5 separate regions of the Homo sapiens genome follow, and all the other regions are linked to region 1. The links are contacts of gene promoters, found by promoter capture Hi-C in blood cells and fetal thymus (Javierre and others, 2016). All regions are on one chromosome and are shown on one strand. Each heading gives the region's core, a stretch centred on a gene start or on the middle of the fragment in contact. The rest is flanking DNA. Distances are from core to core; before and after follow the strand shown. Region 1 holds the start of KAT6B (lysine acetyltransferase 6B). Region 2 overlaps ADK (adenosine kinase). Region 3 overlaps ADK (adenosine kinase). Region 4 overlaps SAMD8 (sterile alpha motif domain containing 8). Region 5 overlaps ADK (adenosine kinase).

Evidence for each region. Contacts are between HindIII fragments. The CHiCAGO score rates a contact against its expected background, and 5 or more counts as called.
Region 2: a fragment that was not itself captured here is called in contact with the fragment with the promoter of KAT6B in region 1 in 1 of 17 cell types (total CD4 T cells); the score reaches 5.5 in total CD4 T cells.
Region 3: a fragment that was not itself captured here is called in contact with the fragment with the promoter of KAT6B in region 1 in 6 of 17 cell types (total CD4 T cells, total CD8 T cells, naive CD8 T cells and 3 more); the score reaches 8.3 in total CD4 T cells.
Region 4: a contact is called between a fragment that was not itself captured here and the fragment with the promoter of KAT6B in region 1, in 1 of 17 cell types (neutrophils). The highest score is 6.0, in neutrophils.
Region 5: a contact is called between a fragment that was not itself captured here and the fragment with the promoter of KAT6B in region 1, in 2 of 17 cell types (total CD8 T cells and total CD4 T cells). The highest score is 6.0, in total CD8 T cells.

What each region holds. Positions count from the first base shown.
Region 1 is chr10:74,822,667-74,828,876 of GRCh38, reverse strand. It overlaps KAT6B (lysine acetyltransferase 6B), which reads right to left and starts at 2,277. Exons shown (of 18, transcript NM_012330.4): 1 at 2,092-2,277. RefSeq lists silencers at 1,812-2,211, 2,902-3,101, 3,212-3,311, 3,422-3,591, 4,102-4,151 and enhancers at 2,427-3,198, 3,199-3,970. The HindIII fragment of the contact is 8,590 bases long and covers 1-6,031 here.
Region 2 is chr10:74,458,367-74,464,576 of GRCh38, reverse strand. The region is part of intron 6 of ADK (adenosine kinase); the gene reads right to left. Among named protein-coding and RNA genes, the nearest start is that of ADK-AS1, 68 kb to the left of the region's middle. The HindIII fragment of the contact is 3,502 bases long and covers 1,007-4,508 here.
Region 3 is chr10:74,485,833-74,492,042 of GRCh38, reverse strand. The region is part of intron 6 of ADK (adenosine kinase); the gene reads right to left. Among named protein-coding and RNA genes, the nearest start is that of ADK-AS1, 40 kb to the left of the region's middle. The HindIII fragment of the contact is 2,888 bases long and covers 1,480-4,367 here.
Region 4 is chr10:75,112,854-75,119,063 of GRCh38, reverse strand. All of the region lies in intron 1 of SAMD8 (sterile alpha motif domain containing 8), which reads right to left. Among named protein-coding and RNA genes, the nearest start is that of SAMD8, 4.3 kb to the right of the region's middle. The HindIII fragment of the contact is 1,565 bases long and covers 2,644-4,208 here.
Region 5 is chr10:74,557,167-74,563,376 of GRCh38, reverse strand. All of the region lies in intron 7 of ADK (adenosine kinase), which reads right to left. Among named protein-coding and RNA genes, the nearest start is that of ADK-AS1, 31 kb to the right of the region's middle. The HindIII fragment of the contact is 208 bases long and covers 3,711-3,918 here.

The DNA of each region.
Region 1 (6,210 bases), core at 1,028-3,527:
ACTTATGAATGGCCGGGCGCGGTGGCTCACGCCTGTAATCCCAGCACTTTGGGAGGCCGAGGCGGGCAGATCACAAGGTCAAGAGTTCGAGACCATCCTGGCTAACACGGTGAAACCCCGTCTCTACTAAATATACAAAAAATTAGCGGGGCGTGGTGGCAGGCGCCTGTAGTCCCAGCTACTCCGGAGGCTGAGGCAGGACAATGGCGTGAACCCGGGAGGCGGAGCTTGCAGTGAGCCGAGATGGCGCCACTGCACTCCAGCCTGGGCGACAGACTGAGACTCCGTCTCAAAAAAAAAAAAAAAAAAAAAAAGAACTTATGAGTAAGAAAAAAATGGAGTGTTTTATTTCAAGGCTATGCCAAAAAATCTAGGGTATACAAGTAAGACAGGAAGAATGCACTTTAAAAAAAAAAAAACACAAAAAACCTTCTTGGGGCCCCATAGAACTAAGACTGTTCGAACACAACTAATTTCCATTTGCTATTTCCACCTTCTGTCCATATAGGAGGGGCCCTCATATGCTCTACCCTGAATTTCCTTGGTACCTCCAACCCCAAACATACTTGGTTCGTTGGTCTTCATTTCCTATTTCCCACATCTGTAATTCTTTATCACTACCCCTTCACAACTTCTGTCTAACACTCTCTTTAACACGTCCCAACACCTTCTACCAATTACAGGGCTTAAACTCCTTCATGGGGCATAGGACACCATTTGTAATCTAACCCCTCCTCTGCCTTTGCCTGGTCATCTCCTACCACTCCCTGCACTCTGCCCACAGCAAAGTACTAGCAAATTCAAAGCTATGCAAAATGTCCTATCCCAAGGTATGGTGCATGTCTCTTCCTGGGATACCCTGCTGCCGGACACTCCCTTGAAGACTCCAGATCAAGTTTAACATAATGAATCCAGCGTATCACGGGTCGCCATAGCTCACGTCTGTAATCCCATCAGTCAGGCAGAGGTGGGCAGATCACTTGAGGCCAGGAGTTCGAGACCAGCCTGGGCAACATAGTGAGACCCTTTTCTCATTTTTATAAAAAATAATAAATACAGCCTATCAAACAACTTGTCTCCCAAACTAACACCTTTCTCTGCCCCATCCTCACCCCTGGCACAGTCCACCAAATCACATTCACCGAAAATTACTGTACAGCTCCACCCACTTTCTTCACACCTGCCGCCTTGTCCCACCCCTACCAATCCCTTGTCCCCAGGAGATTTTCTGCCACAGATTTTGCAAGTTCTAAGCAGCCTCTCTCCCCTTCCTTCATATTTAAGTTTGCTCTGCTGTCTTAGCATCATCTTTCAGAAACTCTCCCAAGCACAACCATCCCATCCTTCCACGTTTTTAAAAAATACTTCATACCCCAAAGCTAGCAAACCTCCTTCTTATTCCAACATGCGATCCACCCAGATACCTCTTTCCCATCACTGCAATCGTACCTGCTCCTCACATGCGCCTCAATGCCTCCCCAAACCCCTCAACGCCTCCCCAAACCCAACACTCTGCACCGCTTCAACTCTACTCCACATCCACCACACCCAAACCCACCTACTCTGCGCCCAGACAACTGCAATCTCGCCTTCGGTATCATCTCACCTGCCCTCACACACCCCTCGGTCCGCCTTCCACTTCTCTCAAATTGCATCCCTCCCTAACTCTCCCTCTGCACCTGCTTCTACACCTTCAGCTTCTCCTCCCACCCAACCCTCACTAGTCTTCCTCACACCCTCGCCGGCCCCCCACCGCTCCTACCAGTTCACTCCCACTCAGAAATTCCCTCTCAGCCCCCGCCTTCCGACTCCCCGAACCCCGCCCCCACCCGATCCCGCCCCGCCCCCCTCCGCCCTCGAGCCCCGCCCCCTTGCCCTAGAGCCCTGCCGAGGGGCGGGGCCTGTCCCTCCTCCCCTTTCCCCCGCCCCCTACCGTCACGCTCAGGGGCAGCCTGACCCCGAGCGGCCCCGCGGTGACCCTCGCGCAGAGGCCTGTGGGAGGGGCGTCGCAAGCCCCTGAATCCCCCCCCGTCTGTTCCCCCCTCCCGCCCAGTCTCCTCCCCCTGGGAACGCGCGGGGTGGGTGACAGACCTGGCTGCGCGCCACCGCCACCGCGCCTGCCGGGGGCGCTGCCGCTGCCTGAGAAACTGCGGCTGCCGCCTGGAGGAGGTGCCGTCGCCTCCGCCACCGCTGCCGCCGCCGCCAGGGGTAGGAGCTAAGCCGCCGCCATTTTGTGTCCCCCTGTTGTTGTCGTTGACATGAATCCGACATGACACTGATTACAGCCCAATGGAGTCTCATTAAACCCGAGTCGCGGTCCCGCCCCGCCGCTGCTCCATTGGAGGAGACCAAAGACACTTAAGGCCACCCGTTGGCCTACGGGTCTGTCTGTCACCCACTCACTAACCACTCTGCAGCCCATTGGGGCAGGTTCCTGCCGGTCATCTCGCTTCCACATAAACACACCCCTCGACCCATCATCCCCCCCTCCGGCACCACCCCGGGGGAGGGTCCACTGCCAATACCAATCAACAGACCGCTGGGTCCGCCTCTTCCGGGCACCTATTGGTCCAGCCCTTTTTCTCTCTCCTAGATACCGCGCCACCTCTACTTCCACCTACCCGCCCCCTCCACCTCTAGGAAAGGATTGGGTCTACTCGCAGCAGAGGAGCGTAGCCTTATTGGCTGCAGACGACGCCAATCAGGAGGCCTTTTCCCTCTCCCCTCCCCCACTCAACCCCAAACCCCCTAGCCCGCAGCTAAAGTTTGTGTGAGAGCTGATCGCTGGCGGCGGCCGCAGGATTTAGGGGTGGGCGCGGGCGGGCGCGCGCGGGCGGGCACGCGAAGTTAAAATTCGAGGTTCTCAGTCGCCAGCTCCTTCGGTGGAGTGTGCGGACGGGCGCGCCGCCCGGAGCGTTCCATCCCGCCCCCTCCTCCACCCTCTCTCCCGTCCCGTCCCGTCCCGGGCGACTACTCGCCCGCCCCCTGGCTCGCATCCTTCCCCCCCCAACACACCCCTACCCTGCCAGCCCCAGGCCGGGTGCAGGCAGAACGATGTCGCTGCAGCCTCCTCGCCATCCCATGCCTCGGGGGAGCAAGCCCCTACCCACCGGGCGTGCACCCCCCGGCTCCACACTCGCCCGTGTCTGCAAGCACGTGCACCGCTCGCCGCTGCCTCCGGCCACCCGGGTCCCCGGCTAACCTCGCCTGCAGCCCGGCCAATCGCTCGCTGCCCTTTGTTGCTGCAGCCTGGGTCTCCCCGCTGCCTTCCTCAGCCTCCGCCTCGTCCTTTGCCAGCCGCCCGGGTCCGCAGCGCCGCGCTCCCCCCGCCCGGGACCCACCGCCGCCGCCTCCTTCTCCTCCTCCGCCTCCTCCTCCTCGGCTCCGGGCTGCAGCGCACAGAGCCCGAGGCAGCGCCGCCCAGCCCCGCTCCCCCCGCGCCGCCCGCCAGCCCGCCCGGCCTGGCCGGGGGCGCAGCCCGGACCCCGCCCGCCCCAGTCTCCGCCCCGGGGGTACCTGCCTCCGCCCCGGGGGGCTCCTCTCGCCGCCCTCGGGGGAGGGCGGAGACGCTGGTGTCCGCGGGAGGATGGGGACGCCTGGGCCGTTTGGGGCGGGGAGTGTGCCCGCCAGGGCTGGGACTGAGGTGCGGTCCTCGCCAACGCGTCCCCACTCCCGTCGCTGTGGGCCCCAAACTTCGTCCTTCGCCCAGGCTTTGCGCCTTCGGGCGATCGCGGCAGTTTTGGGGTGGGGGACGCCTCGGGAGCTGTGTCTACCCTGATCGGGAGGAAGAGGGAGCAGTGACATTCAGCGACTGCGGACAGGGCACGGCGGCGGCATCCTTGTGTGGGAGTGGGGATGTCAGACGCGGGCTGGAGGGGGAAGCTGCCCCCCAGGATGCTCTCTCCCTGCCTGCGAGGAGCTGGCGAGCTCAGCCGCGTTCTGGGTGCTTTCTTGGGCGGTGCAGGCGGATGGCAGAGGGGCTGAGGCGGGAGGGGGGCGGGGAAGACCGCTGGGGGGCCCTTCCCCCCCTCTCTTTTAGCCAGCGCTGTAAGGAAGGCTGATGGCGAAGTTCGGTTTTCCAGGCTTCCCCTGGGCCCCCCGAGTTCCTGAGGCCCACTTGAGGGAGACTGGGGGCTCCTCTGGCCGCCCAGGCGAGGCCACTCTGACGCTGCCCACATGCCTCCCAGAGCTCTCTGGACTCTGAAGAGAGCGCCCCTGGTTCTTTCCGGAGGTGAATGGGATGCTGGCAAGGGAGACTTCAGAAAATAGGAAAGGTGGGCTGAGAAATGGCTCCTAGAGAGTTTGAGCACGAAGTTTCCCTCCCAGGCGCCATTTCTTTGAGAGGGGGAGGAGAACTATGGCTTTGCAAAAGAACCAAGTTTCAGGCATGGTGGCCTGGGTGGAAAACCACCTGTTGCCTGAAGTCTGTCCCTGGAGTCAGGGCCATCTTGGGCCTGGGCATGGCTATGCCGGGTGCCAGGGAGGGGAGGCCCCAGGCTTCCTGCCCTGGTTGACTCCTGCAGCCTCATGCCACTGACACTGCAGCGGCATCTTCACCTTCCCATTAGAAACCACTGTACAACTAGGTAGGTACTTTGTTAGGACAACTTATCTTCGTCCTTATCTCAGACAAAACAAGCAGCACACGCAGCCCTGTCTTCAAATGCAGACCACAACACACACTTCATTTTTTAAAGATGGTCTGCTGCTTTGGGGTGTGAGCTCCCTCTCCTCCTGAGCTTCTTGGCAGCAAGGTGAGAAAGGAACTTAGACAAAGGGCACAGAGTTGGATGAAAGGATAGAGAAAGGTCGAGGGGGAGCAGAAGAATTGTAATACTACACTACAAACTGTCACCGGTTCCATTATAAACAGTTTTTATAGGTGTTTTATTACTTGGTTGTTAGTTTTTTAAAACACAAACCTCTTTAGATTAAATCTTGGCATTCACAGGCTCAGCCCAGGGAAACAAAACACAGAGAAAACTCCAGCCATCCGCTTGGCTACTTTTGAGTTACATTACTGATAAAACAAACAGCAGGTTGGGTTTCCTCAGACTCTGTCTCAGCCTCGTTTATTTAGTATCTTCAATAGCTTGCTCAAGGCGAATTTTTACAAACCATTAGTTAGTTCATAATTCAGTGTAGTTCACTTAGGTGTTTCGAAGAGAAGGACACTTATAAGGTGTGCTTTTTTATAATGCAGGTGCTGGGATTTTTATTCTCCAAGAAGTTACTAAATAAACTTAAGAATCCTGGCCCACTCTTTATTTAGGCTTTCTGTTCTTTTTTTTTCTTATGGTCTGCCCAGATGCACTTTATTTTGTAAATTACATTTGTGACCCTCAGACTGCATTTTATCTCAAGCAATAAAAATAAACCATGCCTTAATTAAAAACAAGTTTGAAAACCCCAAATCTGTACACTCAAACTAAAGTATGTTAAAAGAAGCAGCTAAAGACAATAAAAGCCAAAAAGTCCACGTTTAAGATGCCTTCAGCCAATGAATTGTGGGTGATTTGTGAGCACCCAACACTCATTATCACTAATGTATTATTCCACAAGGATCTCCAGTGCATCAAGAAGTGAAGAGACACCTTAGAGAGAAATCGGCTATGTTTGCCTAAACCTGTGCTCTTGTAACCCCAGGAGATCAGGAATACAGAAGAGAGAAATGTCTTCATTCAACCTCTTGATATGTTTTCTTGAGATTCTGTTCTTAACAAGCATAGTTCTGTAACGGGGATGTGGCAAGGAATCCATAGCTTTCCCATTGATACTCCCCTCTAGGGTTACTTGTCCTTTGAGAAATCTGGCTCTTCAGATAAGTGGGACTGGAAAGGATAATAAGAGACACAGTCAGAGATATTTAATGCTTACTCCTAAACCGCTCTCTTATCTGTGGTATCTCAGGTCCTCTGCTGAGCTAAATAGCTCAATTAAGAAATTAACCTAGAAATAGCCTGAATTGAAAACCAAGCATGGTGCAAATTTTGCAAGCCTACTGGGCTGGAGGATTATGAATGGAGAAGCTTATCTGACCTGTCCCCCACAACCCCAAAACAGCTGCCAGCCACCACCACAGACCAGAACCACTGACTAGTTATACTGCTCCATGCAATCTACAGATCACTGGAATCAGAATGATCTGGGAATGAGTGTTTGAAAGACAGTTTCCTTGGCCCAACCCCAGAGATTCTGATTCAGTAAGTC
Region 2 (6,210 bases), core at 1,508-4,007, 360 kb after region 1:
CTTATTTTATTTTTTTAAAGACATGGTCTCGCTGTATCACCAAGGCTGGAGTGCAGAGTCATGACTGTGGCTCCCTGCAACCTCGACCTTCCAGGCTCAAGTGATCCTCTTGATCCTCTTGCTTCAGCCTCCCAAGTAGCTGGGACCAAAGATGCATGCCACCATGTCCAGGTAATTTTTTTTTTTAAATTAATAGAGATGGGGGTCTCCCTATGTTGCCCAGGCTGGTCTTGAACTCCTGGGCTCAAATGTTCCTTTTGCCTCAGACTCTCAAGGTATTGTGATTACAGGCATGAGCCACTGTGCTCAGCTAGATTCTTAGAACAAACCTTGAGCACACTCACATGATATCCTTACAAAGATGAAAATTTCTAGAAACTTGAACACAAAGGATATAGACAAAGTTGAGTATCATGTATACGGTATGTCTTATGTGTACTGCTGTAATTTTTCTTGGTGGCCACTGTTTATTTGTAAAAAGACTATACGTATATAGTTTTGGAAAAACACAAGTAACATGTGTACAGGAATCTCTGAGTGTCTATAAGAATACCTCAATTCATATTAGTCATAAAATCAAGAGTACTTTCCAATTCAGTAAATTTCCTGTTAATAAGTTTTGCTTAGGACATTTCTCTTACATTTAGGCTCTGTATGTTTTCAAATAACAATCTAATTTCTTTCTAATAACATTTCCTTGCACCTTATTAATTATATTTACACCTTACCTATTCCCTTACAAGGATTAAGGCAGTTTAGAAAGACGTAAAAAAAAGACAAGATACCATGACAAAAATTTGGTGGTAAAGACGACGAATCTGCACAAGACAAGTTTGTTTTTAGCCTCCTAACAATGAGAAAAAAGAAAAAAGAAATTCAATGACACAATTAGAATTGTATAAAACAAGGGTCCCCAACCCCTCAGACATGGACGGATACAAATCCATGGCCTGTTAGGAACTGGGCCACACAGCAGGAGGTGAGTGCCAGATGTGCAAGTGAAGCTTCATCTGTATTTACAGCCACTCCTCATTGCTCAAATTACTGTCTGACCTCCACCTCCTGTCAGATAACTGGCGGCATTAGATTCTCATTAGAGTGCGAACCCTATTGTGAATTGTGCATGTGAGGGATCTAGCTTATGTGCTCCTTATGAGAATCTAGTGCCTGATGATCTGTCACTGACTCCCATCACCCCCAGATGGGACTGTCTAGTTGCAGGAAAACAAGTTCAGAGCTCCCACTGATTCTACATTATGGTGAGTTGTATAATTATTTCATTATATATTATACTGTAATAATAACAGAAATAAAGTGCACGACAAATGCAATGCACTTGAATAATCCTGAAACCACCCCTCCCCCACCCTGCCCTGTGGAAAATGATCTTCCACGAAACAGTCCTTGGTGCCAAAAAGGTTGGGGACCCCCAGTATAAAACACTGGTGAATCTAATAAATAGTAAAGATTTTTTATTTTAAAACTAGAAAAAAAATAAAATAATCACTTATTAGATAGCAATTTCTCAAGAACTTTAGCTTATTTTTCCATATTTACTGATAAAATTTGAGTCATCACAATGTTGGAATTCCAGGAGACAGGCTTGAGACCTTCATAAAGCCTAAATCCCTAAAGTCTGGACATGCTAAAACTTTCATGTTTATTCTAAATTTTATATGAGAGTCATCTTTATGTGTATCTCTAAATTTAATCAATAGCCTATCCTTAATATAGATTTCTGTCCTCATTTAGAGGGTATTTTTCATAAAAAGCCCAAGTTCTTATCATTCCAGAGGGTAACTGTTTATTTGATAAGTTGTAGGTAACAACAAACACATGTCACATTGGACGCTAGATAGTTAACAAGAATAATTCACTACCTAACATCACAGCAAATATGAGTTAAAGTATGCTAAATTTTTGAATGCCAAGAGACTATCTTGTTCTTTCATTTTGAAGCTGATGATTCCACTGTGACTAAACTGTAAGACTCTACCTGATGGTCAAAACACAAAAATTCTATGGATTTTAAAAACCAGATATGAAATATATATCTTATTGAATCACTTTCAGAAATTTCAGTAGTGAGTTCTAGGAGAAAATGTGGCTTGTGTACACACACACACATATACACACAAATATTTCAAAATACTTTCTATACTTTTTTTCTCTGTAGGTTGATTTACAAAATTTTAGAAAATTTCCTAAAATATACTCTTAGAAAGAGGTTTTAGTTTTCCTGGGAGTACCAAAATATAAAGTTTTTTTCTTAATACTCCGTATAACTTCTAATTTTTCTAAATTTTTCCATGTTCCCTATAATAGGTCAATAATTCAGAGAAACTATCTAATATAAAAATCTATTAATGATATTATAAAACTATCCTAAGCAATGTTTTAAATTTACTGCTGCTTAGGACATGGTGCTCTGGTATAAAAACAAAACAACAAACAAGAAAGACATACAAAAAGACTGCTCTCAAAACCTGCAAGGAATTTGTATAAGATTTAAAACAGACATATGCTTTTAAAGAACTTTTGAATGCAATAGTTAATGCACATAATAACTCAACAACCAACATAGATTCAAAGCTCTAACAGATACCATATGCAACCTGTAATAGAACCTGAGTCAAGATATTTCAGGCAACAGGATAATTTCATTTTCCATTTTAAATATCCACTTATTTTTAGTTAACTGGCCATAACATAGCACATGAAAATGCTGTCATTATTGTATAACAAAACTCTAGTACAGATAAGATATTTCATTACTAGTCAAGAAACTAAAATTTGGGGAGCACTATTACAAAAATGTTTTTCTATGTTTACTACAGAAGATATGCATACTGAATTTACCATTAGTTCTATAAAGTCTAGTACCTGTAAAGATAAATCTAGCTTAGGAAGTAGGTGAAACAGTAGGAGAGTTATACTTAGCCTACAAAATGTATGAATTCCAAACCATCAATTATATTAAATATCTACTATGTGGAAAGCTCTACGTCAGTTATAAAGGAAATAAATGTTTGTAAGATGTAATGCTATTGTAGTGGAAATACAACATATTAGTATTAGTACTGAGATAGGGAAGGATCAGAGATGTATCTAACATAAGTCACATTTCAAATCAGAATGAAACAATTAATTGAAATGCAAATACTATTACCAGGCTTTTTTCCTTGCCAAAATAATCAAACCCTTTGTTCTGACAATTATAACAGTATTAGGCTACACAAGCCATTCAGACTAGTAAGGTAAGAAAGTTTTAAGATGGAAGCAATGTGCAGATAAAATCAGATGTTAGCTGAGTAAAGCAAGAACTATATTTATTGCTTTCTGCTAACGTTTTTGAGACAAAGGAACAAATGTCTAGCAGCTGAACCAAGACAAGTTAGGGACTTAAATGGCATTGTTTAAAAAAAAAAAATTCTATTTCCGGTTTCTTAAGTTTATAGTTGGTTTACTCTAAGGACTTGCTCTAAGTATTCCTTACTTTAATCACAGAAGATGTCCTGTAAATTTAAGAACAGAAAACTGGCAACCTCCATTAGCAGTATTTCAATATTACAACAGTGTCTTTTATTAGAAAACTCAGTACTCCCTATTCATTCATCTGCTAGACAGAACTTCCTGGCTAACAGTCCATAGTGATGACATAATTTCTGACAGAGACATTCTGAATAAAATGGAGACTACCAGGACTAATCATTATAGCTTTACTTTAAACATTTTCTTAAGCTATTTGTAATTCATGAATAAAAGAAGCACTTTACTAGAACACATCTATCGTATGCTGTCATCCTAAAAGGAAAACTTCAGAGGAGAGGACACAAACAAAAACAACCTTTCAAGTCTCATATTTGTTAAGGACAATCTTACATATACTACAGTTAAATGCAGTATTTAAATTGTCATGGTAGGGGGTCAAGGTAAATAGGATAATCTGGCCCCAGAGAGACAAAATCATTTACATTGAATATAAAATCATAACTGAATTATTAGAAAAAGCTAAGTATCCTTCAATAGGAATCTCTCCATCATTTGAATTGTAAAAAATTAATGAAGTTAATATACACCTGAAAAATGACAATCTTTTTATATTCATACAAGGTATTACAAGCAATAATACTACACATGTGTGTGTAATAAAAAATAAAATCCACAAATTGAACATGTCTGAAATCTCACAGTTGCAGAATAGCAGGCTCATAAGCACAAGAAATGACCCCCAACTCTGCAACCCAAATGAAGATAATTTGTGTTTGTCTGTGTCATTAGGATAACACAGTTTATGTCAAGAGGATGTTTTGGTATACAGAGAAATCACAACAAGAAGTTTTTGTTTATTTTTGATTTCAAAAATGTCTTACCTATCTAGGGTACTATTGGGAGAATAACGCTCAAAGCACGCTCAATAGCAGGTGCCCTTTTGCCGTTAGGGTGAAGAAACAGTTTCACATCTTGGAGCCGAGAAACAGTTGGATAGCCAGAGACAGAAACAAGCTTCCAAACCCAAATCACTTTCTAATTTGAAATTTGAAAATAAAGTATAATGGCTCCTACTTCTTAAAGTGTGAGTATAATTATAGGGAGAAATACCCTTACAGGGAAGCAAAAAAACAAAGAAGTGATCACAGGCTTGGGTTGGGGTGGGAACACATTTGGATACTTTTTTCTTTTTTAACTCATTGGGAGACAGGAAAGAACCAATAAAAGTTGGCATGGCAATTAAGCAAGGAAAAAAAATAATGCCTTATTTTAGCAGTAAAAATGTTTGACTTTTGACTACAGAGAGCCTGATTTTTTTCTTTTTTCTCCTTTCTTTTTTTTCTTTTTTTTTTTTTTTGAGATGGAGTCTTGCTCTATTGCCAGGCTGGAGTGCAGTGGCACCATCTAGGCTTACTGCAATCTCTGCCTCCCTGGTTCAAGCGATTTTCCTGCCTCAGCCTCCCGAGCAGGTGGGACTACAGGCGTGTGCTACCACGCCCAGGTAATTTTTGTATTTTTAGTAGAGACGAGGTTTCACCATGTTGGCCAGGATGGTCTCGATCTCTTGACCTCGTGATCTGCCCACCTCAGCCTCCCAAAGTGCTGGGATTACAGACATGAGCCACCGCACCCGGCTGAGCCTAACTTTTTATACTAATATTTACCAAACTGTGTCCTGCTGAACTCTAATGTCCTCTGAAATGTAAAAAGGTGTTCTAGGAAAAACCCACATTAAAGAAATCTGTTAAATTTTTGCATATTCTTACATTTTCCAACTGATTGGAAATAAATTTTTTTTTTTTTTGAGATGAGGTCTCGTTCTGTTGCCCAGGCTGGAGTGCAATGGTGTGATCTCAGCTCACTGCAACCTCTGCCTCCTGGGTTCAAGCGATTCTCCCTGCCTCAGCCTCCCAAGTAGCTAGGATTACAGGCACCCACCACCGTGCCCAGCTAATTTTTTGTATTTTTAGTAGAGACGGGGTTTTGCCATGTTGGCCAGGCTGGTCTCAAGCTCCTGACATCAGGTGATCCACCCGCCTCAGCCTCCAAAGTGCTGGGATTATAGGCATAAGTCACCGTGCCTGGCCAAAATTTTTTTTTCATAGAATATATTTTAGGAAAAATTGCTTTTCACCATATGTTAAGGTAGAGTATATATGTGTATGTTTTTAAAATATTTTGGTCAAGTTTTAAATGATTATTTCTTTTTATTTTCCATATTAAACCTTATCTGATCAAAAGAACTCTCTCGTAAGGGAAGAGCTACTAGGTGGGTCTATGGGATAGTATTAAAGGTAAGGCAGATTAGTACTATTTCAGAAAGAAACGGCATAGAAAAGAAAGCTATTTTCTTTTATTTATTTGTTTTGGGAGCTGTGAAAAGTGAAAGCTGATAGTACCGGTGTAGTGTATAGAATGGTTTGTATCAAACTAGATCTACATTACTTTACTAGAAATATAGGGCAATAATAAAATTTCCAAAGCCAAACTGAACGATAATATATATTTCTTTAGAAAGTCTCAGAAAACCCATTCCTGAATGACAAAACGGAGAGATAACTTACAACTAGGTGATATCTGAAGTTAAATTTTCTTGGTTATCTATTTCAAAAATTCACAACTATTCTGCACTAAAATGTTTCACTGGGTCAGGCACAGTGGCTCATGCCTGTAATCCCAACACGTTGGCAACCTGAGGCAAGAGGATTGCTTGAGGCT
Region 3 (6,210 bases), core at 1,674-4,173, 340 kb after region 1:
CATACAATAGCTGTGGTAAATATTAACATATGGGAATTCATTAAACTAGTTTTGCTATTTTTCTACAATTATTTCAAAGTTAAAATTAAAAAAACTAAAACAACTCTGAGACTTGTCTTGCCCACATTCAAAAGGTAAAGTAGTAGAACTGAGATTCATACATGTTTTCCCCAACTCCATAGCCCCATACTCCTAACCACAATAACACTACCATTTATAGTTTCTATCGGGGGGGAAAGCAACACACACACACAAATTCAAAGAATTTAAATAAGTAAACCTACACTCCCACTTATCTACTTAGTTACCAAAGATAAATTGAAAATGAAAGGTCATTCATCAAATTATTGGTAAGACAAACCAAAATATAGTCAATTGCTATGAAGATATAACAAAATTTAGCTGCTCTCTATTGGTTTATGTCACAAATTACTACAGCTTTCTTTAAAATACAGAGTAAAAGGCCAGGAGGTCAAGTATTTTAAAGTAAATCATTCAGTGGAGAAATTTCTTTAAAGACTAGATAAAGCAAGTGTGGCAAAATCTTAGTAATTATTGAATCTCAGTAATGGGTAGATGGGGTTCATTACATCGCTTTTGCTACTTGAAAACTTTCATAATAAAATAAAAATTAAAGCCGAACATAGTGACATATCCCTGTAGTCCCAGCTGCTTGAGAGGCTGACGCAGGAGGATTGCTTGGATCTAAAAGTTCAAGTCCAGCTTGGGCAACCTAGTGAGATCCTGACTCAAAGTAAAGTAAAATAAAAAATAATAAATTGTAAGGAAATGGGATGCACCAAGTGAAGATCCTTTATTCACTCAACAAACACTCACTGAGTATCTTCCACCTATAAGACACTGTGAAAAAAGGCACTGTATAGCTTATGTGGTAGTGTTTTTTTGTGTGTCCATTTTAAGCTGATCCGGTATTTAATATTTAATCGACAAATGGCTGTATATAAAACCTAACTATTAGAATTCTATAGGGCTAGTATTTTAGGTGGCTGATCAATGTACTACATTTTTTGAGAATAAAAAGACACATTAAACCCCAGAGAGAAGTACATAATTATTTTTATAAATAACAAGAAAAAGTTAAAATAATCACAGATCCATGAGTACAAATCTGATCTAACACGTGGTACCTAAACATGGACACCATTATTTCCAACCTGAGAAGCCATCTGTGAGTTACTATGGGGAAAAAAAATCAATACAATTTTCAAACTAGAGGAAGCTTCTGCAAACATCTTGTTCAATTCTACCAGGAACAAATTAGGACAAAGATCAGCTGACTGGCTTGTCCGAGGGTAAAAACAAAAACAAAACACTTTGTTATCAGGCAGAGACGAACGGTATTGAAGTATTTGGACTTTGGGCCACTTTCCTTTAGGAGACCTACAATGAGACATGGGTTCAAAAAGTTTTTTTCTCTTATTTACTAGCACTATGGAAATAACCATAACTAGTAAAGCTTAATATAGGCTCCTAAACTCTGTTCTAATTGTGGCAACTTATTCTGGGAGAACATATACTAAAAAGTGATACAGTATTTCTGTTACCCTCTACATATAGAGAATGTAAAAAGACAAAAGACTGCATTTGTAACTACACTTTTCTTCTATATAATTACATTTTTGGTTGTTGGTAAATCCTTGGCAATATTCTGTGGGTTTAACATCGTTCTACATTATCATTAATTGCATAACACATTACCATATGTTGGACCTATTCAAAGTTAGTATATAGGTATTTTTACAAAAAGACATTGATAAAAATCAGTATCACAATGAATACATAAAGAAGTTTTTATTTCCTCAAACATTTTAATCTAATTTTGAAAATCTTTTCTAAAACATTTTAAAAACATGCTTATTTTCTTCCTTATTGAAATTCAGATGTCATGGATTTGGGAAGAAAGAATAAAGGGAAGGAATTTTAAAGCATATAGATTATGACTGGAACCATGGTTCATTTTCAGAAATATTGGTTACATGCTCCAATGCTTTCAAATGATGGGCTCAAACACTATTAAAGATAAAACGGATATATGCTATTTGTGATTTTTAAAAAATCATAGAAACTCTACTTATTTCACATGATTTTAAAGAATCTCTTAAGAGAGCATTGCAAATCCAATTATATTATTCCTACTTACACAAGTTTTTTTCTTCCCCATGGACATTTAATGATTTCAGGAACTAGATATAATAATGTGTCCTAGGTCTTTAAAAATCTGTGCATTCTATTTTAACTGCAGAAAATATAAATTGGTTTAATTTTGTGAGTTATCATTAAGTAGTTTTGTACAGAACTTAAGTTGAGCCATATTATTCCAGTTGGAATAGTAAAAAAAAAAAATTATGACATCCTGCTTTGTATCTGGAACAATAATAGCAGCATTTTCAGGACTAGGTATGTCTGTCTGAAAGAATGCCTTAGGAAACAGAATGCTAGCACACACAGGATACAGGGGGAAAATAAGTTCTTAAAATCAGAATTTAATTGAAATGCAAACATTTCAAAGACTTTTTTTCACATATGTACATACACACATAAATGGTCTAGTCCACTGTGTATACTACATGCATCTGTATCCTTGTTCAAGTCATTGAGCTGTTATTCTATCTGGGAATGTCTCCTTTCCTCACTTCTCTATGTTCTATCCAAACTACATGACATTCCTTTATTTATCCAAATGTCCTGAATTTCTCTAGATAGTATTATTTTGACACTTATATAATCTCTGACAGGTATATTTTTATGTGTGAGGCTGACATTTCCCTTCTACATTGGAGAACTTATTATCTGATTGAAAAGAAGATGAAGCATATAAGCAGAGTGTTCCATATGAACTTTCTTTTAATATAAAAGGCATAATTACCTTGCTTGTGAGTAAAACATCTTCACTACTCAAAGCCTGTCCAGTCTTGTATGCTTACTCATATTTCCTCAGCAAAGATCCACATAATAAGTAGGTATAATTTTTAGAAAATTACTATGTACTTGGCTCTTTCCTAAGTGCTCCAAATATATTAATTCATTTAAGCATTACTACAATCCTAAGAAACTGGTATGTATTATTATTATCCTGTTGAATATTTGAGGAGAATGAGGCACAGATATCTCAAATTACTTGTCCAAGATCACAAAGGTGGTAAGTTGTGGGATCAGGGTTGGAATCTGGACAATCTCAATAGAGCGCCTCTAAGATTAGCTACTCAATCTCATCACCTAAATGTTCAATATATAGCTGTTGAAAAAAGCTAAACATGAAATCCCACAGAGATCAATTAAATGTCTTTAATGTCGTAAAAGTCCAGTTTTCATTAGCATTTAGAGATGAAATGGAAAAACAATTTAGATGTCTCCATTTCTGACATCTGAAATTTAGAAAAGTTTTCTTTAATCCTGCTATCTACATAAATATGATTTTCTGAAGGAAAAAAACTCACAAAAGCTATAAAAAGTTTATCTAGTGTGCTAATTTGTTATTATCATACTTTAAACATATTTTCCCTTAAGGTTTTTCAAATTTCATCTTGAAACCAAGCCTATAGAAAAAATTGAGAGTAGTACAAATGAACACTCCTATGCTATTTACGTATATGTATCAATTAGAACATATTCTTTACACACACACACACACACACACACACACACACGTCTTTTTTCCCCTCAAACCACTGGAAAATAAGTTGCAGACATTATGACCCTATTATGATACATACTGACCAAGGAGATTTTCCTATATAAGCACAAAATGTGGCAGTGATGTAGTATTATCTAATATATAGTCAAGGATCTAATACTACATTTGCTTAAGTCTCTTTAGTCTCCCTTAATCTGAAAGTCTCCTTCCATTCTCCTTACTGTCTTTCATGACAGTGGCATTTTTGAAGAGTCCAGGCCGTTGTCTTGTAGAAATGTTCCACAGTGAAGATATGTCTGAACTTTATGATTAGACTCAGTTAAGTATCTTAGGCAAGAAAGTATACAGACAATGTTTCATACTTCTCATTACATGCCATTTGGACACACATTAAGTCATTATTAGTTAGGATGCTACACTGAATCACTTGGTGAGGGTGGATTATGTCTCCTTCTTAAAAGATTAAATAGAATGACTATAAGTACTGATTGGTTGAAAACATATGATTTTTAGATAAGCCAAATAATGCAGGCTTCAGTATGCTGTTTTTAACTGTTCTAACATTTTTTCTAATTTTCTATTGGCATTTCCCTTATTTTCATTATTTAAAGCCTGATACTTTGCATCTTGGGAGACAGTACAATACTGTGATGTCTTCCCCAAAAGCTCCGATGGAAAGCTGAATACAATATTCTGTTTTGATAAGCAAGCTTTGTGACTTATTTATCCTATATTAAATGTGGTATTTAAGAATAAGTTTAAAAAGACAGTGGGAAGTTTCTACAGGTTACACAATTTCAGGATGTTGAGAAAAATATTACTAAATTCGTTCTCAAAATAAGATGGGTTAAAAAAAAAATAGCCAAAAAATAAACTGGCAAATTCTACCATCCTCATCTCAATTTTAAAGTGCCCAGAAAAAAAACAAAATGAAATATTTCATAAAATAAATAATAAAGATTTTAAGACTGTAACTCTTAAAATCTGTTTAATAAAACATTAAAGCTTTTTCTGTTTAATAAAACATTAATGTAAGTGCTGTATTTCTTAGAGTTGTCCCCTATCAATCATTCATTCTGAACTCAAGCACCAATCCACACACGATTAACAAAATTCTTAATAGCAATTATTAGCAAGTACAAAAATTAGGTTCTATTCACTTAGGTTAATGATAATAGGGTTAACTACAAAATATCTATGGCTAATCCTTTTCTATATTTAACTGCATTATTTTTTAAAAATTAGTGATTTTGGAGGCTTTTAATTTTTCAAAACACTATCATAATCAGTGTTTACAAGACTGCTTTATGAATGCAGGGCAGTAATATGGCTCTTCCAAAACTACAAAAAACTAATCATGATTAGAAAGCCACTTTGAATAAGGAGTTGTACATATTCCAAAAAAGATCCAGTGGCAACCATTACCAAGGATACAATTTGATAACCTTAAATATAACAAATAGTACACATAGATCTGGGAAACATGAATTCTTACCAAGAATAAACAGAAGTTTTGTGTTCCTAAGAAACATAATAACAAATTCCCCTCATCAAGGGAACAGCATGTGCCAGCAGGATTATACTTGTTATGTCAAATTCTCACCATAATTCTGAGAGGTAATTTTATTATCTTGTGTTAAAGATAAAAAAACTAAGAACCACAGACCAGTTGAATACGCTCAAACAGCTAGTAGTATAGGACAAAACTGGGACTGGAACTCACATTTGGATCATTATTTGGGTCAAACTCACATTATAGCCTCAGAGGCCATAATCCATACATCACTTTGCTTCTCAAGTAAATAAATTTTGACTAAAAGTACATATTCATTATAAAGTTTTAAACATCTAATGAAAGGAACAATCAAAATGGAAAACTATACCTGTTGGTGTGTTTTTGGGTTTCCTATTCTGTTCCATTATTTATCACTGCACCAATGTCACAATGTCTTATTATTTTAACTTTATAAGATGACTCAATATCCAGTTGTATTAGTCTGTTCTCACACGGTTATAAAGTACTGCCCAAGACTGGGTATTTTCTAAAGAAAAAAGAGTTAATTGATTCACAGTTCCACATGGCTAGAGTGACCTCAGGAAACTTACAATTATGGCAGAAGGGGAAGACACACGTCTTACATGGTGGCAGGCGAGAGAGAGAGAGAGCGTGCAAGTGTGGAAAAGACAACTACACTTATAATATCATCAGATCTCATGAGAACTCACTTACTATCATGAGACCAGCCTGAAGGATACCGCCCCCATGATCCAATCACCTCCCACCAGGTCTCTCCTTTGACACGTGGGGATTATAGGGATTACAATTCAAGATGAGATTTGGGGATATGGGAGAAAAAGCCTAACCATATCACCAGTAAATTCTCCCATCTTATTTGTCTTGAAGATGGTCTTGGCTATTATTATCCTTTGACTTTCCAAAAACATATAAAAATGAGTTTGTCAATTTACACTCATATACACCCCTACTTGTTAGGATTTTAATCAGAATTGCATTGAAATTACAGACTAAAATGGACAAATATTGCATCTTTACA
Region 4 (6,210 bases), core at 2,177-4,676, 290 kb before region 1:
TAAACACTGAGGAAGAGACTTCAAACATTATATAAAGCTAGAGTTAATAAATTTTTCTTAGGGCAATTATATATTATAGATGCACTGAAGCTGAAATACAGCTAAATCAAATACATTTAGCTTATCTAATATCCACATAATAAAGACTACATGTTTGCAGATCCATAAACCAGAACATAAAAACAATTCTTATGAAAGCAAAAAGCCTAAACTATGATGTAGGAGGATAAGGTTTAATTTGGGCATATATGGCTAAACTTTGTGATTAATAACTCTGTAGTTTATAGTATTTGGGATTATCCAACTTTTTTCCATACTATTTTAAAATTTTTACCATAAATGAAAACATTTTCATTCAGCAAACAAAAACTACTCTTTTCTCTTTATACTTATAGAAAGATATTTTTCTTTTTCTTTTTTGAGACGGAGTCTTGCTCTGTCGCCCAGGCTGGAATGCAGCGGCGTGATCTCAGCCCACTGCAGCCTCTGCCTCCCAGGTTCAAACAATTCTCCTGCCTCTGCCTCCCAAGTAGCTGGGACTATAGGGGCACACCACCACACCTGGCTAATTTTTATATTTTTAGTAGAGACAGCATTTCACCATGCTGGCCAGGCTGGTCTCGAACTCTGATCTCAAGTGATCTGCCTGCCTCACCCTCCCAAAGTGCTGGGATTACAGGCGCAAGCCACTGTGCCCAGCCTATTTTGCATTTTCTTAGCAAGCACAGGGTATTGTTTCCAAAACATCGATAAAATCTGCAATAATTACAAAACAGTTTCAAAGACCTTGCACTAACTCCTACCATCCATTTTGAAACTCTTTAGTGGTGATTTTCTGTTTTGTTATGTCCCACTTCTGAGCAGTAGAATTTAGGGCAGCATCTTTAAAAGAATTAAATTCCCTCCTCAGTTACATCATCATTCTCTTGGCTGCACTTCAGTTCTTGGACTTTTTTGCTGCTCTAACCGTGAACTCTTATAATTTCACTCAAAAAAAGTTGTCATATATACCAAATAACATCTTTTTCTGGTTCCAAATAGCCTTTAAACTAACTTCTACTATCAGGCTGCACCAAGTTATCTACACCAAATCCAGAACTGTCTCCCCTCAATGAGTAAGAATCTGACAGATATTACCGTCCATTTTATATTCTCAGTTATACCAAAAATTTTTCCACGATGATAGGACTTTGGTGATAAATTTGGTAAAGGGTTCCTGACCTGGCTGCAATGCCACAGCAAACCAGTAAAGAAGCTAAGTATCTAAAATTCTAATTTTTATTCTAACCAGGCTAGCAGTTTAACATATCAATTTGGTAAAATCTTTTTTGTTTGTTTGTTTGTTTGAGAAAGCATTTCACTCTTGTAGCCCAGGCTGGAGTATAATGGCGCAATCTCGGCTCACTGCAACCTCTGCCTCCTGGGATCAAGCAATTCTCCTGCCTCAGCCTCCCAAGCAGCTGGGATTACAGGTACGTGCCACCACGCCCAGCTAATTTTTTTGTACTTTTAGCAGAGAAAAGGTTTCACCATGTTGGCCAGGGTGGTCTTGAACTCCTGACCTCAAGTAAGCCACCCACCTTGGCCTCCCAAAGTGCTAGGATTACAGGTGTGAGCCATCACGCCCACCCTTTTTTTTTTTTAAGATAGGGCCTCACTCTTTACCCAGGCTGGAGTGCAGTGGCGCAATCACAGCTTACTGCAGCTTTGACCTCCTGGGCTCAGGTGATCCTCCCACCTCAGCCTCCTGAGTTCTGGGACTATAGGTGCACACCACCACACCCGGCTAATTTTTGTATTTTTAGTAGAGACGAGGTCTCACTATGTTGCTCAGGCTGGTCTCAAACTCCTGGGCTCAAGGGATCCACCCACCTCAGCTTCCCAAAGTGCTGGGATTACATGCATGAGTCACCCCACCCAGCTGGTAAAATCTTTATTTTTAAATATGCTACACTGGCAGGCTGCGGTGGTTCACGCCTGTAAACCCAACTTTGGGAGGCCAAGGGGGGTGGATGCCTTGAGCCGAGGAGTTCAAAACCAGCCTGAGCAACATAGTGAGACCTCGTCTCTACTAAAAACACAAAAAATTAGCCGAGCATGGTGGCACGCGCCTGTAATCCCAGCTACTGGGGAGGCTGAGGTGGGAGAATTGCTTGAACCCGGGAGGCGAAGGTTGCTATGAACTGACATCACGCCACTGCACCAGGCTTCGGCAACGAAGTGAGACTCTGTCTCTAAATAAATAAATAAATATGCTACATCCAAAATCTAATCAATATAATGGAAAATGAGAAACTGGCTCAAGACTTCAAACTCCATTAAATATTGTGAAAATGGATTGGATTTGCAGCCAAATTTTAATGTATGGTTTTGGAAATCTCTGGCTTTCATGCTAATATTATATTGATGGAACTGACATCAATTCCATTTAATCTCAAAGTTCCAAACTAAAACAGATTTGCAAGTATTTCCAAAAACTCAGTGACACCAGTTAACCTATAGGAAGGCCCTAAATTAGCAGAATCCATGGTTCTCACCTCCAACTAGAATTTATCTGTCAAAAATTTCAAGACAACAGAACAAGTATCAAGATAACAGATACTCATGTTACTACCTCTTGTCCTCTGCCACAACTCATAAGCTTAACTAAATGCACTTCAAAAATTTAAGACACTCACACCTGTAATCCTAGCACTTTGGGAGGCTGAGGTGGGAGGACTGCTCGAGGCCAGGAGCTCTAAACCAGCCTGGTCAACATAGCTGATACCCCATCTCTACAAAAGAAAAATTTAAAAAAATTAGCCAGGTGTGGTGGCACACGCCTATAGTCCCAGCTACTCAGAAAGCTGAGGCAGGAGGACTGCTTGAGCCCAGGAGTTCAAGGCTGCATAAGCCATGATCGCGCCACTGTATTCCAGCCTGGGAGACAGTGAGACCCTATCTTTAAAAAAAAAAAACTACCAAAAAATACTTAGACAAATATAAATATAATTCACTGCCCTGCCCCACAACACTCTTTTCTGAGGTACATATCATAAAACATTGTTTTATGGTGAAACACTGTGGTGAAACTATTATAACCAAGTTTTTCTTAGTTAATAGTCTTTTTTTTTTTTTTTTTTTGAGACGGAGTCTCGCTCTGTTGCCCAGGCTGGAGTGCAGTGGTGTGATCTCCGCTCACTGCAAGCTCCGCCTCTCGGGTTCATGCCATTCTCCTGCCTCAGCCTCCTGAGTAGCTGGGACTACAGGCGCCTGCCACGAGGCCCGGCTAATTTTTTTGTATTTTTAGTAGAGACGGGGTTTCACCGTGTTCGCCAGGATGGTCTCGATCTCCTGGCCTCGTGATCCGCCCGCCTCGGCCTCCCAAAGTGCTGAGATTACAGGCGTGAGCCACCGTGCCCGCAGTATGTTACATTCTATAGTATTGTGAGGACCCAATAACAGAACATTTCAATACGGAAACATGAAGTCACTGAACTCAGCTAAAGGTTAGGCTTCAGATCTGTGATGATGGTACTGTGTGTATGGGAGGAGGGGGTTCAGGAATATTCACATCACAGGTCTGTTACAAATCCATACCCACACATTCATATGGCAAATTACCAGGAAGCAACAGCGGTAGCATGTAAACACCAATCTGTTTTCCCAGTGTGCCTGGCCCATGCTCTCCTATTTTTAGTTAACATCTTGATTTCTCAAGGCCAAGAAAACCACAAGACCTAAAGTAAGCATCACTGTCCTGATGATATCTGTTGTCAAATGGCTTTCTCTGTTCTTGCCCTACTATTAACCCCTCAATGTGTTACATCATACCCTTAGAGCAAAACAAAAACAAGAACAAAAACTGGTTCCAAAAGAATTCCCAAAATCACATGTAAGCAAGTATTAAAGATACGGCATTTTGCAAATAAGTAACTCTTTATTTGTAAACAAATATAAATACATGAGACGTGAAAATAATCAAGGCTCTCCCCTGTCATCTCTGCAAATAAGTAAAACATTTAATCTAATCTGGGAATGAAATAGTATAGTCCTCCTCTATAACCTAAATCCCTTAAAAGAATTTTGATTAGCTCATACTGTATTTTTTCACCAAATACCACAATCATTCAAAAGAGCTTCATAGGTAATTTAGCAGAATATGCAATTGTATTCATATCTCGTATAAATCAGTTTGATGTCCAAAGAGAATCAAAGCTACAGAAGCTTTAAAATTAAAAAGTGAATTCAATCTTAGTTCATTAACAATCCACTGGCATATGAAAAATGAAGGGGGTAGAATCTGAAGACAGGAAAGATTTCCATCCATAAATTAACGGGCATGCTAGGTACACCCAACAATTAACACCATATATTACATCAGGCCTGGAAGTAAAAATCTTGAAAGAATAGCTTGTTAACATGGCATTCTTATAAAACAATAATAATACTATTCATGGAAACATCTGTGATTTAAGTTTCTCAAAAAAAGTGTTCAAATTTCAATTCTTAGAAAAGCCATGAAAATGTCTTAATCAGTAACAGCAAAGTTTTGAAGAAGTATTGAGGATCTAATGATTAACAAAATAAAAAAATGTTTATAAGCAACTGTGCAATGTGAATAAGCTTTTGCAGAAGGGGGGTTATGGTACTGAAATCAAAACTGATTTACCTAAATATGTCTGCATATTCTGCCATCGCAGTCATGATGGCTTCTTCTGCCTTAGAGAAACCGATTTTTTTTTTTTTTTTGAGACATATCACTCTGTTGCCCAGGCTGGAGTGCAGTGGTGTGATCTCAGCTCACAACCTCTGCTTCCCGGGTTCAAGAGATTCTCCTGCCTCAGCCTCCTGAGTAGCTGGGATTACAGGTGTGAGCCACCACACCTGATTAATTCTTTTTATAGTATTAGTAGAGATGGGGTTTTGCCATGTTGGCCAAGCTGGTCTTGAACTCCTGACCTCAAGTGATCTGCCTGCTTCGGCCTCCTAAAGTGGTGGGATTACAGGAGTAAGCCACCACACCTAGCCAAAAACTGATTTTCTTTATTCAATGGGTGTGAGAACTGACAAAGGGAAACAAAAATTAAAAAACTATTAGACATGCTAATATGTTAATTGTACAACTCCATCTAACAGTTTCTCTTTAATTTTGCAATAACATTAAGCTGTAATCTTAATAGAGTTCTTATATTGCAGTTCAGCAAATTTTTACATGCCATGACTTTTATTCACAACTAAGTATGAAGATAAGGTCTCCAGAGGATCTCACTCTAAAGATAAAACCAACAAACAGTAATATTACATAAACTTCAACTGAAGATAATTTGTATTAAGTTAAAGAAAAGGGAATTAATACTTTAACAATCTCAGCATTTTTAGCTAAGAATTCACATATCCTTTGAAGAAACAATTACTATTCCACTGTGCATCTGAGGGTATGTCACATAGCCCATACACATAAACTAATTTAAAAGCTGTTGCAAATCAAATTATCATCTCATGAAGATTAAACAGTAGATATCCATTTAGATTTAATCAAGCATTTAGAAAACGCTTGATGCTAACAAAAATTAGCCAGCCATGGTGGCGCCCACCTGCAGTCCCAGCTACTCCCAGCTACTTGGGAGGCTGAGGTGGGAGGATCACTTAAGCCTGGGCAACACAGCGAATCTCTGTCTCAAAAAAAAAAAAGAAAGGAAAGAAAAGAAAAGAAGGAAGAGAAAAGAAATGGCCAACAACTTTACAAACCTATAATCACATAAAAAGTTGTAAAACATATGAGACATGTGGCTAAAGTCAAAGACTTCATGGAACCATGTTATGACTTAACAATCACAAAAGGAAGTCAATTTATCTCTACTAAAGTGAATATAAATATTGCAATCATTCTTTTTCTGGCATAATTATGTTTTGGAACTATGTCTTCTATAAAAAGCATCTGTATACCCACCTGTCCCAGTTGTGTTGGCTGCCAACTACAAGCATCCTCTGTCCTTATTTTTCCAAATCACTCTACTAAAAATACTATTCACACAATACCTGCAAAATAGTATTTCAATATTGGTTTTGCCAATCAGTCAAAGGTACCTCTCCAATTTTCAAGAGATAAGTCCAATCCTGGGGTTATCAGTGAGAGGAAGATTTGGTATTGCGCCTAGACTGTGGCAAGTTCACTGTGCCCCCTTCACCCAGAAACTTGCATTGACCATACATTTACTATGTGGCAAA
Region 5 (6,210 bases), core at 2,565-5,064, 270 kb after region 1:
AAATATTTGAGACTTAATAAATTAGTGAGAGTAAGATGGGTGAGTAACACTGAACATGATGTAAAAATAGGTCAAGGCAGAGGGAAGAGCATGTACAAACAGTTTGAGGGGACAGGTGAAAGAGCTCAACTGTCTTAAAAACAGAAAGAAGTCAGGTGTGGAGGTGCAAGCCTATAGTCCCAGCTACTTGAGTGGCTGAGGCAGGAGGACCTCTTTAGCCCAGGAATTCAAGGATGTAGTTGTGCTATAATCATGCCTGAGAATAGCCACCGCACTCCAGCCTGGACAACACAGTGGGATGTCATCTTTAAAAAAAATTAAAAATAAAAAAATCTCAAACTGAAAACAGGCCAGTGTGGCTAGGGAGTATTTAGTAGATTTTGAATTTTGTTCTAAGTGAAAACCAAACCAAAACCAAACCAAAATAAAACAAACACCCATAAGACAACACAACACAAAGAAAAAAAATGGTATTTGTTGATTGTAAAACTGAATACAAAATCCAAATTTAATTTTACCCTCAACCTGGTTCACAAGGACAGTTTAAAAGTTACAGAGTACAACAGCTTGTACTTGACACAAAAAACACTGGTTTTATTTTTTGCCAAAGCAGGCATTTATTGAAAGCACATGTACTATATTAAAAAGGATCCTAAATATTTTTGTGCCAGATTTGATAAGGGACCTAATTTATGTTCTGGCATTTAGCTGGAAGCCTGAATTAGTGATACAGCAACATAGTAAAGACTTGATTTTCTCTGTTCTTTTATATGTATATCATATTCACTTGGTCACTGGCAATTCCTCTTAGTACAAACTGCTAAACTAATTTGAAGCAAAGGTTAAAAGTTAGGACAAGGAGAGTAAGACTATCCTTGAAGGAAATATGTAAACTGCTAATCAGTGAAAGTGTTTGCACCCATCCCAATATACTCTTGAATCCATCCCCAAATCAGAAGCTTCTTTGCTTTTCTACTAGCTCCAGTTACCCTAGTTCTGTAGCAAGACTCAGACTCCTAGTCTTCTCATCATCTCTTTCCTTCCCCATATATACTTATTTTTAAAGAGGTCCTTACTCCTTTAAAAATGCCATGTGGTCTTATTTATTTAAAAGGCATTTATTAAGCATCTACTATGTGTTAGGCAGTGGGTCATGAAGAAAAAAACATGACTAATGTCCTTCTACTTCCCCTGTAACTATGTTTTCCACAGTAATGTTGGTGTTTCCCTGTCTCACTTTTCTACTAGATTGTCATGCTCACCACTCTATCAAGAGAAGTGCTTGGTACATAGCAGGCATTTAAATATTTTTTGAATTAAGAAATGACTTTTAGGGACCTAGAGAAGGCGAGAAGGTTGTATACGTGCTCAAGAGCACCAGATATAGACAGTTAAGAATACAATCTCACAATCAAATTTCACTTAAATGTAACTCTAGACCGTCATATTAGTTGGTAAACTCTAGGAATCCATTATAGAAAATTACAAGGCAAAGTTAGGTGAGCCCTTTGAAAGAGAGCTTAGGCTTTCCCTGAGCTGAGGGACTCTAAACAGCTTATGCCCATGGGTTTCTAGCCTGCTTTCCTCTTGACTGGGCTTTGGACTCGCTTAGCCAGCCTCCATACTTCCATCATCCAATTCCTTGTAACAAATCTCTAAATCTATATTGTCTACTGGTTCTGCTTCTCTGGTTTAACATGGACTCATATAATGATGTTATAAACAGTGAACATCTTAAAATATTGTAACTATTTGTATTGAAAGTACTCATCAATTTCAATGAAATGAATAGATTCAGGGATTAGGAACACATACATTAGACAAATAAAGTTTACTTTTAAATAAATGTAGGTTATATTGATGCCTGATCAAGACAGATAAAGTCTACATTTAAATAAATGAACGGTTATCTTGATGCCTGATCCCTTGATTCATATTCTTCATCATCTTCCCTCACCTCAGACTCCTAGTCTTTTCATTGTGTCTTTCCTTCCCTATCCAAAACAAATGAACAAAGAATCTTAGCCTATCACACTGTGCTATCAGGTTTGACAACATCTAGCAGGCTAAAATTTCCAGGAGGTACTTCTCTTTAATAACGGTGAAAGCTTTAACAAGAAGGAGTAACTGGTGGAATAAGCAAGAAAATAAATATATTCTGGCAGACAGATTCACAAACTCACAGATGACCACTTACTCCATTTGACTAGTAAAACTGGCCACTCTCAGTTTTTTGGATGATTTCATTTTGCATTCTAGGAATGACTGCAGCCAAAGCTCTTCGACCAGTAACATGTCCTCAGCAGATAATACTGCTCACAGAAGAGACTGACAATTTTGTTGTTCTGTTTTGTTTTGGTTTGGAGAGGGGGGTCTTTACATATTGTTGAGCAATTATCATTTGTTTTATTATTTACCTTTGGATGTACTTATGCCAAACATTCCAAACTAGATTATGAGCTCTTTAAAAATAGGATAATAGCTCGCACCTTAAAAAAATCCTACCACCTCTCTCTTTCTCTTGCAAGAGCTTAGCAATAAAAACAGGTACCCAATAAACATTTACTGATTTTGTAATTTGTAGAACAGTATGTAGAATGAGGCCAACTGTGATTTGGCTTTTATCTAAAGGAATTTTTTCTGTTGGGTGAAATGCTACTAGCTATGCTTCTCAATACTATAACTTGGAAAAATGTACACATTTTAGCCACAAAACTAATATTTATAAATATAAGGACACATAAAAGACTAAATTAACAAAATTTTAGGAAGGAACAAACTGTTACATGTTTTTACTATTGCTGTACATGTTACATGCTACTATGACTTTACAGCAATATTCAGAATTAGCTGCTAATCATCCTAGAGAATTTGGTCTGCTGCTACGCTAAAGCATCATTGTTGCAAATAAGATTCTTCTTAGATTGTACAGTCAGCAATGACCCATCATCTAAGATACTTGGTACACTAGGACTCAAATGATTAGCTTCTGTAAGTGAATGAATGCATAAATTAGACCCATATGAAACACATCATCTGATATTACTAAATAAGGTAAAGGCTAGAAGGGATAAAGGACAAGACTAACAAATATGACTAAATACTAATAGAAAAAGTTCCATATACAAAAAAAGCACCGAAAATAAAATCAACAGACAGGCTGGGTATGGTGGCTCATGCCTGCAATCCCAGAACTTTGGGAGGCCAAGGAGGGAGGATCACTTGAGCTCAGGAGATTGAGACTAGTCTGGGCAACATAGGTCCTTTTTCTACAAAAAAATTTTTTAAAAAAATTATCTGGGCATGGTGGTGCGCACTTGTAGTCCCAGCTACTCAGGAGCCTGTGGCCAGAGGGCTGCAAGGTTGAGGCTACAGTGAGCTGTGATCATGCCATTGCACTCCAGCCTGCACGACAAAGCAAGATCCTGTCTCAAAAAAAAAGTCAATGGACAAACTGCAAGAAGTATTTACAAGTAAGGATTTATTTCCCAAATACAAAGGAAAAAGAAAAAAAAAAACAACATGAAAAAACTTAGTTGGAAAAATTGAACCAACCAAAAGAAAAAGAAAGCTAGGCAAACAAGGAGTTAAGAGAAGAGGAAAATATAAATGCACTATAATATGAAAAGATATAGAATTACAACATTACCTCTAAAACTGCAAATTGAAACAATAAAATACCATTTTAAATATATCAGTTTGGCAAAGCTTAAAAAGACATTTAAACAGAGAATATGATTTGGTAGAATCCCCTGAAGGGGCAGTTTGGTAAAATGTATCAAAAGTTAAATTTTCCTTTACTAAGAATTGGCAGTTCAATTCTGGAGATTGAGCCTATAGAACTATTTACACAAAAGTACATAAGACATATTACTACAGAACTATAATAACAAAAACCCAGAAAACAACATAAAAGCTTTCAATAGAAGAATAAACAATGATGTATTCATATAATACCACTCTTATACAAAATAAGGCAGATAGATAAGTTTGTACTACTAGGAAAAGAGATCTAGCTATTTTATGTGAGAAGATACAAAACAGAATTAAAGTATGATTTCATTAAAATGAGTGTTTTGGCCATCAGGTCCTAGTGCTGCTGGCTCCGCCTGGTCCCCACAACCCAGGTTGCGTGTAGTCTGCCATGCCTGGGCAGCTGGGCCAAGGAATGGAGGTCAGTGGATGAACAGCGTCAGGGAGCAGTGCTGACACACAGCAGGGTGGCAACTGCAGGCCCCCACAACACCAGCTTCCAGGGAAGCCCAGAGCATGAGGCTGCAGGCCTGAGAGGGAAGAAGCCAGACTGCCATGGTGTGAAGGTATGCAGACTGTGACATCCTATTGGGTTCAGGGAATGCATGGGACCTATGAGGCTTGAGTTCTGGATCATGAAAATCAAACATTCAAATGTTTCAGCTTCTGTTTACTTCAAAGCCTAAAGTTAGTCCTAAGTCTTCCTGAGACAGATGAGGGAGGAACCCTTGTCTCTGAAGCATCAGAAGTCCAGCCCGGCCTCACTAGGGTAAAATCAAGGTGCATGCAGGGTTGATTTCTTTTGAAGCTCCAAGGGATAATCTTTTCTTGCCTTTCTAGCTTCCAGAAGTGCCTGCATCCTTTGGCTCATGGCCCATCCCCACTTCAAAGCCAGCCAAATTACTTTTCAGAAACCAAGTGTATTAGCCTGTTTTCACACTGCCATAAATAACTACCGGAGACTGGGTAACTTAAAAAGAAAAGAGGTTTAGTTGACTCATAGTTCCACATGACTGGGGAGGCCTCAGGAAACTTATAATCATGGCTGAAGGTGAAGGAGAAGCAAGGTGCATCTTACACAGTGGTAGGAGAGACAGAGAGCACGAGCAGGAAACTGCCACACACTTTTAAACTATCAGATCTTGAGAGAATTTACTCCTGTCATGAGAACAGCATGGGGAAAACTGCCCCCATGATCCAAGCACCTCTCGCCAGGTCCTTCCTCCAACATGCCAGCATACCCACCAGATAGAAAATGATGAGCTGGGCACAGTGGCATGTGCCTGTAGTCCTAGCTACTCAGGAGGTTGAGGCAGGAGGATTGCCTGAGGCCAGGAGTTCGAGACTGCAGTGAGCTATGAACGTGCCACTGCACTCCAGCCTGGGCAACAGAATGAGACACTTCTTTTAATAAATAAATTTAAGAAAACAGAAAAAAGAAAATGTCAACTGCTGTCACATAGACCTTTGATAAAGGGAAACTGAAGACTGAACTCTGACTGCTGCTCTTTGTTCTAAATTGCTTCCTGAGGGGCCTGGAGAGAGTCACACCTGTGGGCTATCAATTTCCTAAACTGGTCACTCTGACCCAGTGCATCGTGGCTTGCTCTCATACCTTGACCCTGACATAGCACCCCATAATGATTAACAGGTTTCCTTATCCTAACTAACCTATGTTAAGGCCAAACCTCAACACTCCTTTCTGCTGACCCCAAGTTTTTAGACAAAGCCTTTCTTCCTTAACCAACTGCAAATCAAAGAATCTCCTAATCCATTGATGACCTGTAAGCCCCCACTCAAAACCTTACTCCTTTTTGAGCCAACCCATGTATAACCTCTATGTATTGATTAACAATTTTGCCTGTAACTTCTACTTTCCTGAAATGTACCCCTGCCTTTAAAAACCCATGCTTGTAAGCCAGCAGGGAGGTTGGGTCTTAAGCATGAGCTGCCCATCTTCCTTGCTTGGTGCCCTACAATAAATGCCCTTCTCTCTCTTGCGGCAATAAAATAAAATGAGTATTTTAAATACTTTTTACAATAAAATATGTCTAGAAGGACATATTTTAAAACTAATAACAAAGATTGAGATGTGGTGGAATTATGAAAGAATTTTCTCTCTGCATTATCTGTTTCTATGATGTCCAGATTTTAAACAATGACCTAGAAAAAAGAAATAACATTCAACCATAAGATTACAATAACATCTCTGGCCATTTATTCTACTTTGTTGCAAATTATATAGACACAGAAGTATCCAATATTACATAGTTTATGTAGTATATAAATGGTTTTTAAATTATAACTGAGATGAAAGGGTAGATAAAAATATTACACAATCAACATATTGCCCCCATCAGTAGTCAAATATATATGCCTTTTTAGCTTCCTAAATTTACTAATTTGTGTTTGAAGACCTATGAATCACTTCTTACACGTTTCAGTCAAGAGAATAAA